2 separate regions of the Homo sapiens genome follow, and region 1 is linked to region 2. Evidence: promoter capture Hi-C in human tissues and cell types (Jung and others, 2019). All regions are on one chromosome and are shown on one strand. Each heading gives the region's core, a stretch centred on a gene start or on the middle of the fragment in contact. The rest is flanking DNA. Distances are from core to core; before and after follow the strand shown.

What was found. Contacts are between HindIII fragments. The study calls those that stand out against the background at their distance.
Region 1: a fragment that was not itself captured here is called in contact with the fragment with the promoter of CLCA1 in region 2 in 2 of the 25 tissues and cell types used here (ovary and pancreas).

Annotation. Positions count from the first base shown.
Region 1 is chr1:86,621,351-86,624,050 of GRCh38, forward strand. The region is part of intron 4 of CLCA4-AS1 (CLCA4 antisense RNA 1); the gene reads right to left. Among named protein-coding and RNA genes, the nearest start is that of CLCA4, 76 kb to the left of the region's middle. The HindIII fragment of the contact is 3,991 bases long and covers 1-2,700 here.
Region 2 is chr1:86,467,616-86,470,317 of GRCh38, forward strand. It overlaps CLCA1 (chloride channel accessory 1), which reads left to right and starts at 1,312. Exons shown (of 14, transcript NM_001285.4): 1 at 1,312-1,518. The coding sequence starts at 1,357. The HindIII fragment of the contact is 10,852 bases long and covers 1-2,702 here.

The DNA of each region.
Region 1 (2,700 bases), core at 105-2,604, 150 kb after region 2:
TGTCACATGTGAACCCCCAAATTAACTGATATGTCAAGCACTCCATGCACATACTCCCACCACCACCACCATCATCAGCACCTTGCACTCCTCCACAGATGGCACCCCAGGTTCCCCTGAAGACAGTACATGTGCTCCCCTGAAGATGGCAAACATGAGCCTGCAAAGACAGTGCACAGATATCAACAGATAGCTCAACTCTGCTAAACGGGGAGAAGGTGCACAACTTTGATCACTCCAGATCACAGCCCTAGTGAGAGGAGGTGCCAGCTGGGCTTCCTGGGTCAAGTAGGGGCTCAGAAAGCTGTGAAACTCACTCATTCCTGCATCAGGACTTACTTCGGTCCTGGATGAATAATATTGAAGATATATGCTTAAAATATTCCTAACACCCAGATTTGTGCGTGTGTTTTCTTCCCCAAGAAAGCTATAAACAATGAAAATTTTGCTGTAAGCATCCCTGTGTCCTCTCTCCCTCTCTTCCTTCCCCTTCCCCCAAAACTAAAAAGAATGTTGACTGCCCATTTTTCTGTGACCAGCAGACTTTATCTATGCTCCCAATTCCAATTCCTTGTAAACATACTTTGTAAAATCCTATAAAATCCTGTCTCCTTTGCCATGCCACTGCAAGGTCATAAAGTAGATAAAACCTAAGCTGCAATTCCGGTTTTCCTCAAAATCTAAGACATGTCACAAAATAATTTACTGCCTTTGTTTCTCACTCTGGTAACATCTTCCCTCCGCATGTATTTCCCACCTTAAAGAGTTGAAAAGGCAACTGCATAATCTAACTCTGGCTACCTGTTTGGGACCCCTTCCACACTGTGGAAGCTTTGTATTTTCACTCTGCCCAATAAAGCCTATGTCTTTTTCTCTCTTTCGGTCCATGTCTCTATCACTCGCTGCGGGCAGCTGCCACACCAATTCTTTGGCATGGCTAAGGCAAGAACCTTTGGCATTACACTAGGAGAAGTAAATGGAAAGTTCTCACTACCTGGCCTGGTTTTATGGGATCAAGGGAAGGCATACAATCCTGACACTATCCCCCAAGAGGGAATAAGAACAGTAAGGGGATACATCAACTGAAATGATCTGAGACACCTCCAGATCTCTAGCCAGGCTGAATGGTGAAGATTGTTCTCTCGCAATGCCAGTAATCGAAGACTTGAGAAGTTTACTCCTTCTTCAAATGAGAAGGCAACAAGGCAAGGCTTCAAAGAACATAAAAAATCAAGGAAATATACCACCAAAATAATAATAATAAAGCTCCAGTGGCTGACCCCAAAGAAATAGAGATATATGAATTGCCTAAAAAGAATTCAAAATAATTATCTTTAAAAAGCTTAGTAAGCTACAAGAGGAAAAACTAATAGATCATGGTGGACAGGAGGCAGGACTAGATTGCAGCTCCCACACAGACAGAACAGTGTGTGGAGACTTGCATTGTGAACTTTTGCTCCAAAACTACTGCAGGAATAAACCAGAAAAGTTGAGAGAACCCACAGACCCTCTGAAGGAAGCAGACTGCTCCTGTAGGAGCAAGGAGACACCCCAAATACAGTGAGTGCCCAAGCTGTGGAAGTGGGAAAGGAGGATTGTCCATCTGCGAACACACACCCTCACTAGGGAACCTGAAGGTCTGGATCACAGGAGAAGATTCTTGCCTTACCTGGAGCTGAGTTAATTTAGAGAGTCAAGCTAAATACAGAGGTAGAGGAAGCAGCAGGAGAAGCCCTTTAGGCTCTCTAGGTCCCCTAGAGAGCCATTTCTGTCTTGTCCACAGAGGTCCTTGGAGAGGGCTGCCAGAGGTACTGGGAAAAGACCACAAAGAGAAGGAAATCTCCTGCTGAACTTTGTAACAATTCCAACCAAACACAAAGTTTTCTGGCCAGAACTCTGGGGAGGGCATGAATCCAGTATGCAGACTCCTCAGGTGGGAAGGCATGAAAGCCCTGCTTGCTTTCACACGTGGGAGGCTAGTAACCTGGGGCAAGTTCTCAGCCCTGCTCTTCCACTGTCTGGAAACAGAGTTGGTGTCTTTCGGGGGCTGGGGGCATGATGGAAGTGAGACCAGCCTTCTGGGTTGCTTGGGAGCTGGGTGAAGCCTGTGACTGCTGGCTTTCCCCTACTTCTCTGACAACCTGAATGACACAGCAGAGGCAGGCATAATCCTCCTAGGAACATCATTCCATTGACCTGGGAACCACAATTCCATCCCCCACAGCAGCCACAGCAATAGCCACCCAAGGAGAGTCTGAGCTCAGACACACCTAGCTCTGCCCCCACCTGATGGTCCTTCCTACTCACCCTGGTAGTTGAAGACTTCAGCATTCTATGAAGCCAGTATCTTCCTAGTACCAAAACCAAGAAAGAACATAACCAAAAGAGGAAACTACAGATCAATATCCCTGATGAACATAGATGCAAAAATCCTTAACAAAATACTAGCTAACTGAATCCAACAACATATCAAAAAGATAATCCACCATGATCAAGTGGGTTTCATACCAGGGATGCAGGGATGGTTTAATATATGCAAGTCAATCAATGTGATACACCACATAAACAGAATTAAAAACAAAAATCACATGATTACTCAATAGACACAGAAAAAGCATTTGACAAAATCCAGCATTCCTTTATCATTAAAACTCTCAGCAAAATCAGCATACAAGGGGCATACCTCAATGCAATAAAAGC
Region 2 (2,702 bases), core at 62-2,561:
AATCTCCTTAAGCTGATAAGCAACTTCAGCAAAGTCTCAGGATACAAAATCAATGTACAAAAATCACAAGCATTCTTATACACCAACAACAGACAAACAGAGAGCCAAATCATGAGTGAACTCCCATTCACAATTGCTTCAAAGAGAATAAAATACCTAGGAATCCAACTTACAAGGGACGTGAAGGACCTCTTCAAGGAGAACTACAAACCACTGCTCAAGGAAATAAAAGAGGATACAAACAAATGGAAGAACATTTCATGCTCATGGATAGGAAGAATCAATATCGTGAAAATGGCCATACTGCCCAAGGTAATTTACAGATTCAATGCCATCTCCATCAAGCTACCAATGCCTTTCTTCACAGAATTGGAAAAAACTACTTTAAAGTTCATATGGACAAGATGAAATTAATGCTTATCACCATCTGAAGACCAAATGAATTTATGAACGAAGAGATATTTCAAGTATTTCAATACAAGAAAATGGGGGGCCAATTTGAGGTTCCACCTGAGGTTTGGCAAATTGAAAGAATATACACAGCCACTGACAGCCCATAATTCATGTTCCTAGGGACATTTAGTTTCAGCAAAATAATTTAATGATGTTAATTGGAATTTTATTGACTGGTAGGAGCTATGCAATAGAGAAAGCAGAAATCTGATGAGGAACTTGGAGTATGCTTTGCAAAGTAAGATATACATTTTATCTTTACTCTCCATTATAAAATAGTCAATAATATCTACATCACTTGCTAATGCTTTTGGTACAAATGGATGTGGAATATAATTGAATATTTTCTTGTTTAAGGGGAGCATGAAGAGGTGTTGAGGTTATGTCAAGGTAAACAAAACCACCATTGTGGTAAAGACCACCATGAGGGATAACTGAATATATGGCTTACAAAATGTTTACTGAATAAGCAGAACAGTCTGGATTTTCCTGGGCAGGAGGGGGTTGGGGGCTTTGGGTGGGTTGGTGTCCATGGCTTGGTAAACATTTCCAAGAAGTAAACAAACCTATCAGCGGCCAAGCTGCTTGTCACCTGTGAGTGCTTCCAAGGAACCGGATGTGGGCTCCCCCACCCTTACCCCAGCATCTGGCACAGCTGAAGGCAGATGGAAATATTTACAAGTACGCAATTTGAGACTAAGATATTGTTATCATTCTCCTATTGAAGACAAGAGCAATAGTAAAACACATCAGGTCAGGGGGTTAAAGACCTGTGATAAACCACTTCCGATAAGTTGGAAACGTGTGTCTATATTTTCATATCTGTATATATATAATGGTAAAGAAAGACACCTTCGTAACCCGCATTTTCCAAAGAGAGAAATCACAGGGAGATGTACAGCAATGGGGCCATTTAAGAGTTCTGTGTTCATCTTGATTCTTCACCTTCTAGAAGGGGCCCTGAGTAATTCACTCATTCAGCTGAACAACAATGGCTATGAAGGCATTGTCGTTGCAATCGACCCCAATGTGCCAGAAGATGAAACACTCATTCAACAAATAAAGGTAAGTTCATAGTAATTATCCATACTTTTTTAAAAATAGCATAATGTTGTGATAGAGAGAACATGAGTGCCCTATTCCAGCTGCACGACACTGGCATGTATTTTTATGTCTAAGTCTCAGTTTCTTCATCTGTAAAATGGAAATAATAACAAGTTAACCATTAGGATTCTTGTGTCAGATAAGATAATGAATGCAATGCACATAACTCAGAGTGATATACTGTTGGCAACTGATAAATGATAAATTGATATGTACTGCTGTGGATTATGTCACTGAAAATTATTTAGTTCTATAGTAAGGCAGAGTCAGCTACATTTGACAGATATTGTGAGATGCACAGATCCTTTGCCTGATTTTACCCTTGGCACGAGTCAGACTCTCCTTTTATTCTCCTAATAGGAACCCCCTTCCCTGTGATCCTAAAAGGAGCCCCAGATGCAAATCTCTGATATAAGAACAACCCTGACCTTCTGATGGGAGAAAACCTTGCATTTTATCAGTCCCAATTCAAGGGATCCTTTCAGAGATTTCTTGCTACCTCTTATGTAGCAGAAGGGAAAGGAAGAAGACTTCCTGTCCTGGCAGGGGTATCTATACCATTGAAGAAGGTCTTGTACAACAACAAACAGCTAAAACTAAGAGGGAAATGCTTTATAAAAGACCGCCCTGGAATCTGGCTGTAACACATCCAGAGGCAGTGCTGTACTAGTAACAGTATTAGTCTGTAAAATGGGAATAATAATAATAAATATCTCCCTTATCAGATTTTGTGAGGATCAAAGTTTAAAATGCATGCATATAAAGGGAAGCTGGGTGGAGTATGTAAGAATACGGTGCAATACTTTGCATGTCTTCTGTTCATCTAAATTTATCTCAGAACTTTAAAAAATAACTTTAAAAATGCATGCATAGTGCCTGGTACATAGTAAGAGCTCAATAAATGGTGGATATAGTCATTGGCTCTCTCTAGATGGAAAATTAATAGAACAAGGGCCCAGAGGGATTTCCCCAGAGATCCACTGCTCTAAGCAGAGGCAAATATAGAAAGATAATGTTTGGAAAGAAAACCATCTCTACAGTGTGTGGTTAGAGAATTGCAGCAGTAGGGGATAGGGATAGGGAACAGAGTGGAGGGTGTCACTCACCATAAAGCTTACCTACTTAACCCAAAGAGGATCAGGCTG